2 separate regions of the Homo sapiens genome follow, and region 1 is linked to region 2. Evidence: promoter capture Hi-C in 16 types of primary human blood cells and fetal thymus (Javierre and others, 2016). All regions are on one chromosome and are shown on one strand. The core of a region is centred on a gene start or on the middle of the fragment in contact, and the rest is flanking DNA. Distances in the headings are between cores, read along the strand shown.

The links. Contacts are between HindIII fragments. The CHiCAGO score rates a contact against its expected background, and 5 or more counts as called.
Region 1: a fragment that was not itself captured here is called in contact with the fragment with the promoter of HIRA in region 2 in 1 of 17 cell types (erythroblasts); the score reaches 5.3 in erythroblasts.

The regions. Positions count from the first base shown.
Region 1 is chr22:19,388,417-19,393,154 of GRCh38, reverse strand. HIRA (histone cell cycle regulator) reads left to right here. Exons shown (of 25, transcript NM_003325.4): 9 at 941-1,054; 10 at 4,601-4,671. Among named protein-coding and RNA genes, the nearest start is that of HIRA, 41 kb to the left of the region's middle. The HindIII fragment of the contact is 5,446 bases long and covers 766-4,738 here.
Region 2 is chr22:19,428,337-19,433,291 of GRCh38, reverse strand. It overlaps HIRA (histone cell cycle regulator), which reads left to right and starts at 1,559. Exons shown (of 25, transcript NM_003325.4): 1 at 1,559-1,852. The coding sequence starts at 1,816. It overlaps MRPL40 (mitochondrial ribosomal protein L40), which reads right to left and starts at 747. Exons shown (of 4, transcript NM_003776.4): 1 at 685-747; 2 at 1-27. The coding sequence starts at 737. RefSeq lists silencers at 673-982, 1,273-1,672 and enhancers at 1,957-2,704, 2,653-2,722, 2,963-3,092. The HindIII fragment of the contact is 6,181 bases long and covers 1-4,955 here.

The DNA of each region.
Region 1 (4,738 bases), core at 2,239-4,738, 42 kb after region 2:
CTCTGGGAGATCACGACGCCTGCCTATGGCTCACAGAGCTCCTAAGGCCCTGCAGCCTCATTGGTGTTAGAGACAGCAAGCCCAGGGACACGCCTCTGAGTTCCATCTTCTCCAGTCTCTGTGCACCCCGGCCATTCCTGCCTGCCCTCTGGAATTAAAACATCTCTAGGCTACCTGACACCAGGCTTTCAGGAACCCTCCTTCTTCTGCCCTCAGTTGTCCTAGGTTGGGGATTCCCAGAGCGCCCACCCCTTTAAATCCAGGAGGGTGTCTGGGAGCTCAGTGAGTGCTTTCATCCTTTGCAGAAACAAAGACAAGTTACTCTCGGGGTAGTTCCCTGGACTAAGCAGCCAACCAAGCACCTTTGTGTGATATTGCCATGGTCACTGGCCCAGGGAGATCACAAATGACTCTCTGACTGAGCAGATCTCTGCTAGACGGTTATGACTGAACAACAAATGCAGTGAGGCAATAAGGAATTCAGAGATTCACACCCCTCCTGCCCATCCCCTTGGCCTCCCTTAGGAGATAGGGAGTGAGTAGGTCTTTGTTTCTGAAGCCCCCTTGCAGGCTCAGCTTTTCTGCAGGTCCTAGGGCTGGCCCTGCCTGGCCAGAGGGAATTGAGAAGGCTAGTTTCAGTAGCTACGCATCCCTTCTACTTGGCAAGCTCCAGAAATGGAGAGTTTGGTAGCTCTAGTTTCAAATCTGCATTTCCCAGCTTACTCATTTGGTGCCTCCGCACATACTTTCTGACCTCCCTAAGCTTCCTTTCCATCATCAGCCAGATGCCTCATAGGTGGTCGGGAAGATGAAATGCATGCTCAGTGCCTGGGCTCAGAGAATGTCTGTGGGAGACTCCCTTCAGTGGGCTGGGACTTGGGCACAGGGGACATGCCTGATGCTTGATTAATTATTTTTAACATCTGTTATTTGGCTTTAGAAATTCAACCCAAAAATCTTCAAAAAGAAGCAGAAGAATGGGAGTTCTGCGAAGCCTAGCTGCCCGTACTGCTGCTGTGCTGTTGGCAGCAAGGACCGCTCGCTTTCTGTCTGGGTGAGCCTGCTATCCTGAGCTTTTGTTGCAGGACGGGAGGTGTAGGTTGGTAAAGTAGCAAGTGGAGGAAAGAGACCTGCTTTGGGTGATGCTAAGAGTGTATTTCTATTCTGCACCTGGGGTCAGCCCCTCCTTGGAAGCTCACAGGCTCTCCTGCTCTCCCAGAAGGAAGTGCTGAAGACTGGGTCTGTGCCCAGCCAGGAGAGGCCACCTTGACCCCCACCTAGACCAGCTCTTGTGTCCAGACTCAGGCAGCACCCTCAGTGGTCAATGCCATGAGCAGCATGTTGGGCTTGCTTCCTATTAGAAAAATCTTTATATGGCTGGGCGCGGTGGCTCACGCCTGTAATCCCAGCACTTTAGGAGGCCGAGGTGGGCGGATCACAAGGTCAGGAGTTCGAGACCATCCTGGCTAACACAGTGAAACCCCGTCTCTACTAAAAATACAAAAAATTAGCTGGGCGTGGTGGTGGGCGCCTGTAGTCCCAGCTACTCGGGAGGCTGAGACGGAGAATGGCGTGAACCTGGGAGGCAGAGCTTGCAGTGAGCTGAGACCGCGCCACTGCACTCCAGCCTGGGCAACAGAGCGAGACTCCGTCTCAAAAAAAAAAAAAAAAGAAAAAGAAAAATCTTTATATAAAGTGTATTCACCTGAAAGGTACAGTTTGGTGAGTTGTCATACATGTTTACACACCAGTGTCATCACTGCCTAGAGCACTCCTTTTTGTCCCTTTGTCCCTCCCCAGTCAAGACCTCCCTCACCACCAAAGCAACCACTCTAATGGCCTCTGTTACACTGATGAGTTTTGCCTGCTCTTGAACTTCATATAAATGCAATTGTGTGGTACTTGCTTCTTTGTGTCTTCATTTCTTTTGCTTGGCACAGTGTTTTTGAGATTCGTGTATGTTGCTGCACTTAACAGTATTTTATTCCTTATAATTTCGGTGTAGCATTCCACTGTATGAATACACCACAATTTGTTTATACAGTCTCCTGTTGATGGACATTAAGATTGTTCCAGTTTTGAGATATTATGACTAAAGCTGATATGAACATTCTTGTATAAGTCTTTATGTGGATGTACGTTTTCATTTATGAGTACATACCTATGAGTAGAGTTCTAAAATTAAAAAAAAAAACAAAAAAATAGTACCAAGTGTCAGCAAGGACATGATAAGCTGGAACTGATACATTGCTGACACGTGTTGCTGACAGGTGTTTACGCTGGCATGAGCACTTGGGAAAACTGTCTGGCAGTTTCTACCACAGCTAAGCATATGACCTAGAGCACTTCCACTCCTAGGCATACAACCAAGACAGATAAGTGCTTATGTCCACAGAAAAAGACACACAGAAAGCTGACGCCTCTATTAGTCCATTTCACCCCTGGGTGATGCTGTGATGGGTAAGGTTGTGAGCCTAGTACTCCTCACTCGCTGGATCCCCTGAGATGAGGCGATGTCTTCAGCTTCTTTTTTTTTTTTTTTTTTTTTTTTTTGAGACAGAGTCTCCCTCTATTGCCCAGCAGGCTGGAGTGCAGTGGTGCAATCTTGGCTTCTTGAGTCACTGCAACCTCTGCCTCCTGGGTTCGAGCGAGATTCTCCTGCCTCAGCCTCCTGAATAGCTGGGATTACAGGCCACCACACCCGGTTAATTTTTTTGTAATTTTAGTAAAGATGGGGTTTCACCATGTTGTCCAGGCTGGTCACAAACTCCTGACCTCAGGTGATCCGCCCGCCTTGGCCTCCCAAAGTACTGGGATTACAGGTGTGAGCCACCACACCCAGCCCGATGTGTCTTCAGTTTCATTGTTCCCCTCACCTTCCTAACTCAGTGCCCTCTACAGAGCAGGTTCTCAGCAGATATACTCAATGGTAGTTGGCGAGTGAGAACCCAAGGGTAAGAACTGTGGCGGTTTCTAAGTGAGGGCTCCTGAAGGGTTAAGTTTCTCACTGCCAGGGGCTGGTGTGCTGTGACCTGACTGTGTGGTAAGAGACACCTCCGCATGCAGTGCAGGGAGCAGTCTTGGTGCTGAGCATCAAGGTGCCAATATATTTAAAGTTTGATAAAGCAAAGTGCACACACATTAATTTTTTTTTTTTTTCATTTTGTAAAAAAGTGTCCCTATAAGCAGAGCAAGTTGGAAGTTCTGGGTTTGAAGGTTATCCTCTGGCTGCATTTATTAGTTTGGTATAGAGAAATATATTACTGTGTGCGTTGTGATTTTTTTTTTTTTTTTTAGGCCAAGTATTCACTTAACACCCATTCTGGAACCTGAACCACAGTACCACAGATTGCCGTTCAGGGGACCTTCCCTGTTTCCTCCCAGCCAGAGGCCCTGTTTGTGGCGCTGCAACCAAAACATCACTGACTGTGATGCCCATATTTCTTAGAATGCTCAGGTTAGGCAGTCACACGGCCTGTAGATTTCTGAGGGGTCTGTAGGCACATTTATGAGAGGAGGGACAAGGCAGCTTTTTCTAGAAGTGGAATTAAGGTGGAGGCGAGATTCTTAATGTGGGTTCCAGATCGTTCAGACTTCAGCCCCCTCTCCACCACTAGGGTAGACACAGCTTCTCCTTCCCCACATAGCAGTCTCAGGCTGCACTGGGACGCTCAGCCCCACAGCCTCCCAGAAGCTGCAGCAGCACCTATGGGAGCCCACCATCCCGTGAGGAAGTGTGTTTCTTCCCTGCCCATTGTCCTGCAGTTCAGGGCCAGCCAGCAGGGTAGCCAGGCACTTGTGCACAAGTGGAAAGGCCTACCATAGTTGTGGGAACGTGGAGTCAGAGTGTATGCCAGCAATTGAGTGACTCGATAGAGAATATGCACAGTGCATGCTATGCAGTCATCCAGAAGAGACTTTTACAGGATATTTAATGACATACTTATTGTGTGTTAAATGAAAAAACAGACACAACTATGAAGAATAAAATAAATTCTTACTTTGAAGAATAAAATAAATATTTGCACAAAATAGAAGATAATAATTCATCAAAGTATTAATAGTCGGTAACTAGGCCCAGATTAAGGGCCCAGGTGTGTATTTCTGTACTACCTACACATAGTGTAGAATGAGCCTTGGATAAATGTGTACCAGAGTCCCTTGGGCCCAGGGAAGATGTGTTGTGTTCTCTCTCAGGGTGCCTCATCCCCTGTCTAGGCTTTGGCATCGTGTCTCCTGCTCCATAGACCCTCTCAGAGGTCCACCCTGGGGCTGTCCCTCTCCTCCGACCATAGCCCTTCAGAAACCCACTCCCACTCTGCCTTCTCTGTTGCTAGTTATCTGTGTATAAAGCTATTTCCCCTGTCAGACCACAGCAAGCCCTGGAGGCAGGGTCCACTCTAGGTAGCATGCACATTTTTGGCAGGCTTTGGTTCCCACAGTTTGGGATCTCTGCAGCTGCAGTTTGAATAGAGTTGAAGATGCCTTAAATATCAGCAGCCACTTTGACCCAGGCTTCTAGGTTGGTTATGTTAACTGAGCTGAATACAGAAGGGGATTTCAGTAATTTCATTAACCTTGACTGTGTCTTTCCTTCCAGCTCACATGTCTGAAACGGCCGCTGGTGGTCATCCATGAACTGTTTGACAAATCCATCATGGATATTTCCTGGTAAGGTGGATTCTACTTACAGGAATAGGTTAAGAAAGGAGAAGCCACACATTGGAACATGAGGCCT
Region 2 (4,955 bases), core at 310-2,809:
AGCTGCGTCTGCCAAGTTCCCAGAAGCCTGAAAGATACAAGAGTATGTATAAATATCTGCTTCTCCAGGCTAGGCGCGGTTGCTCACGTCTGTAATCCCAGCACTTTGGGAGGCCGAGGCGGGTGGATCGCGAGGTCAGGAGTTCAAGACCAGCCTGGCCAACATGGTGAAACCCCGTCTCTACTAAAAATACAAAAATTAGCCGGGCGTGGTGTTGGGCGCCTGTAATCCGAGCTACTCGGGAGGCCGGGGCAGAACTGCTTGAACCCGGGAGGCAGAGGTTGCAGTGAGCCGAAATCGCGCCACTGCACTCCAGCCTGGGCGACAGAGCGAGACTCTGTCTCAAATAAATAAATAAATATCTGATTCTCTCCCACTTCACAGGAAAATAAAAAATTGCAATGCTCCCAAACCCGGGGCACTTCTAACTACTTGATATGACAGCAAGGTCAACGTGGAAGGTTTTTCAAAATCTTTCGTTCAGACCACAGAGGACTTAAGCAGGACCGCTGCTCGCCAGGGTGCTCAGATTTTCATGCATAAGAGTCACGACCAGATGGCTCATCCCTGAGATATTCGTGGACTGGGAGGCGAGCAGGGAGCACAGGCGAGTCCTGGCGGACAGTCGCGAAGACCCCGCACGCGCCCTGGGCACTCCGCTATCCGGCCAGCGTCCGCACTCACCCGCTAGTCGGGCGCAGGGCTAGCGAGATACTTCGCAGCACGGAGGCCGTCATGGCTACCCTCGCCGCTTCCGGGCGTGCGCCCCTCCACAGTCCGGCCCGCGGTGCCCCCTGCTGAGGTCCGGCAGACCAGGCGCCCAGCGCTCAGGCGTTCCGGCTGCGTGGGCTGGGACGCGCCTGTCCCCGCCCCCGACGCAGCCCCGCCTAGGGTGTCAGCTGCGCACACACGAGGGCCTTGCGTTTCACGCGGCTCGGGGTCCTCCCTTCCGTCCCCGCCCTGTGCTGGGAGCGCGCCTCTGCAGCGGGCACAGTCTAGCCAGTCAGGCCCTAGCCGGTTGGTCGGTCTGCGCCCTCGCGCGGGCCTCGGCTCCGCAGTGCAGCCGGAGCGGCCGAGGGGGCGTCCCTCTGCTCCTCCGAGTCCAAATGTTCATGTCTAGGCAAACGGCCCCGATCTTCTAATAAACGCGTCCGCCCCAGCCTCCCCCACCAGGGTTGGCTCGTCCCCCGCATTCGTTCGAGTCCGAAGCCCGGATCGCATTCCGGCGCCGGCGCGGAGCCCGGCGCTCGCAAGATGCCCAATAGCGCGTGTTGATGAATGACGGAAGCTAGTTAATAAGTCGGACTCAGACTGGCGAGGCAGAGCTGGTGACGGGCGGTCCACGCCACCTGGGCCCCGCCTGCCTCTGCGGGCGGCCCGGGTTGCAACTGCAGGCCCCGCTCGCTGTCCGCCGTCCAGGCGAACCGCCCTTTCTGGGGCGCCCGCGCCCGGGCCCGACCCGAAGCCCCTGCCAGCGGAGGAGCCGGGGCGGCCCAGTCCGCGTGGGGAGCGGTTTCCCGCCGGGGCGATTTGGCAGGTGCGCGCCGTGACTTCCGGCGTTGCCCGGGAGCCGCCTGAGGAGGAGCGGCGCAGGGGATGCGGCTGTGGTGGCGGCGGCGGCGGCCGAGCGCGGGTGGCGGCTGTGGCGGCGGAGGGGGGCGCGGGCCGGCGATGGCGCGGCGGCCCTGAGGGCGCGGGGCGGGCGGCGGCCGGAGGGCGGGTGGCGCGGGAGGAAGCGGCGGCGGTGGCTCCATGGCCCGGGCGCGCTGAGGGACCCGGCGCTCGCCTCAGCCCGGCGGCGGCGGCGGCCGAACAATGAAGCTCCTGAAGCCGACCTGGGTCAACCACAATGGTGAGTGCGCGCAGGGGTCGCGGGAGGCCGAGCCCGGAGTCGGGTCGGGGTCTGGAGTCGAGTCGGGGCGCGCGCAAGTCCTGCCTGTCTCGCCCCTGACGCCCGGTACCCGGTGCCCAAGCCAAGAAGCCGGCGGGAGCGGACTTTGTCCTCAGCGCGGAGAGGCTGGTGAGCCCCAGCACGTGCTCCGGGTTGACCGCAGCGAGGGCCATCTTCGCCCCTGGCTCTTGCTCTGAGTCTTCCGCTGCCCACCTGTGGTCCTTGGAGGGGCCGCGGCCTGGCTCCCAGGAGCGGGCCTTGGTGCCAGCCAGTGCCTTCCACTGGTCTGCATCGCCCGAGAAGTGCTCAGACGGTCCTGAAGGTGAAACCGGGATGAAATCCCCCTTGTGGCCTTTCAGTGGCAGGATGAAGATCCGAAATCTGCAAGAGGGACTGTTACTGCCCCTCTGGATCTGGGGACAGTGCCCCCAGTTGGGGAATTGTGGTCCCTAAATAGGAGGGTTTGGGGGCCCCGGGCCCCCGCGAAGGATCCACGATTAATGCTGAGCTGGGACATCAGGGTGAACTAGGGTTGGGCAGATAGGGCACAGGTGTGTTCTAGCAGAGGGGCTTCTTAGCTCTGTGGCAGTGGCTCCAAAGCACACCCTTGGGGAACGGACTCATCCACCCCATATCTTGACTCTGATACAGAGAGGCTAGTGGTAATCAGTTTCGTCATAGTTCTGCCTTGTTGGCAGAACTGCTGCAGGAGTTGGTGTTTGCTCCCCGGGTAGATGAAAAAAGCGCGCCTCCCCCTCCCCCACCCCACTCTGCTGACAGCACTGTAGCACAGAAATCAACCCAGGGAGACTCCTCCAGCCCAGGGCCTGATTCTGGCCTGTCTGACTGTTGACAGGCAAAGGGTCACCCTGATGCTGTCTTGTTCCTCATTTCTACTTTGCAGTGCGACTACAGGGTGCTACCGTTTTCTTTAGGAGCGAGAATAGATATTTTAACATGTGGCTTTTTCGTTTTGAATTTGGTCCCAGGATGCTCTCTACTACCACAACTAAACTGAACTGATCATGTGTGTGTTCTCCTCCTGCCACCTCTCTCTCCTTCCATCTTGTGTGACATCTTTCCCATTTTTCAGGGACTAGGTTCACGTGTTTCTTTTGAAACTGTTCATCCTGAGTTACCCCGGTAGATGTGCTGTATCACTGTCTGTGTGTTTTGCCTGGCATGGAAGGTGTGAGGGTACTTTCCATATGCCCCCAGGGTAGGGACTGCCTCAGTCCCTTCTGTATGCCCTACTGCATTGAACAACCTCTTCCACATGATGGGTATGTGATAAATATTGGCTAAAACAGGTAAGAAAGCTGAGGTTTTCATAATTTATCAAGATGAAGTTAGGTTTACTGTGCATGAAAGCCGAAGCCTTGAGTTTTAGTTTCATTTCTCCTGTTGATCTCCAAGAGCATTTCCTGATGTGTACTGTGCAGATCTTTCCCTGGAGAACTGGACAAATATTGTAATTATGAATTATGATGCTTGTGATTAGGAAAGGAAAAATGTTATTATGAACTAGTTTACTGTGTGAAGGTCTGATAGAATTTTTATTTTAAAATGCTTTACCTAAATCAGTTTTTGTGAATAGCCTACCCTTCTCCAGCCTCTCTTCTACTGTCATATAACTTGTTCCTTTTTGATAAGCTCCTTTGTAGGCCAAAAGTTTTATGCTATGTAAACATAAGTAAGTCAAGATGCTTAAGTGACGAACTAGGTACAAATGAATAAGAGACTACACTCAGATCAGCAGCCAAGTGCATCAGCCTGGCAGAGCAAGCACAACAGTGGCCCTTATTGCTGAGGGCCTCTCTACAGCCCTAGAATGGAGCATGATAATATCTACTCTAACCACTTCATAGTATGCTTGTGATACTCAGTTGGGAGCGTAGATATAAAAATGCTCCCCAAACTGTTAAGTGCTTTAGAAATCTGAGATAATAAGTAATAATAAAAAGAGGCTGGGCACGGTGGCACATGCCTGTAATCCCAGCACTTTGGGAGGCTGAGGCAGGTGGATCACGAGGTCAAGAGATCGAGACCATCCTGGCCAACATGGTGAAACCCCGTCTCTACTAAAAATACAAAAATTAGCTGGGCGTGGTGGTACGCACCTGTAGTCCCAACTACTCGGGAGGCTGAGACAGGAGAATCGCTTGAGCCCGGGAGGTAGAGGTTGCAGTGAGCCGAGATCGCGCCACTGCACTCCAGCCTGATGACAGTGAGACTCCATCTCAAAAAAAAAAAAAAAAAAAAAAAAAGATATGGCAACTCTGGCAGGATGGGATTTAACTTCTTTTAAACTTGTTCTTTGTTAAATTTCCTTTCTTTTAAAATCTCATGGAATGTTCAGAAGGACTGTCAAGAGGTAAATTACCACTGCCCTGGAGGAGATGATGCTGGTCTGAATCACTACCGAGCAGGCCTTTAAATACTGTAGGAGTATTGGTGGCTGCTGGGAGCAGGGGCTGCTCAGCCGGAAGCCTGAGGGGTGGGTAGTGGCCAGTAAAATTGTGCTTGCTTTTGTAAAGCCATCATTGCACTTTCTGGCTTCCTTGTTCTATATTCATGTCTCCAATTTTGTGAAGCACAAACATAACTTTTTTTTTTAATAGAAATGGGATCTTGCAGTGTTGCCCAGGCTAGACTCAAATACCTGGGCTCAAGGGATCTTCCTGCCTCAGCATCCTGAGTAGCTGGGACTACAGGCGTGAGCCACTGCACCCAGCATGAACATACTTTTTCTGTTTTTCGAGAGTCTAAAGGGGGAAGTAGCAGACAGCTCAGCATTTTTCTCTGGTGTGGCAGGGAATCCATTCAAAGTGGAGAGGGTAGCTAGAACAGGAGAAGAAGTATTTATTGAAATGTGGGTGTACTTTGGTCTTCATTTTCTTGGCTGATAATAGAGACACCTCTAAGGTAGGGTTTCCCAACTTCAGCAGGTTGACATTTTGGGCCATAAAATTGTGTGATTGTCATCTATGTTATAGAATGTTTCTAGTATCCTTGGCCTCTACCCACCAGATGCCAGTAGCACTTCACAAACACCTTCTTAGAG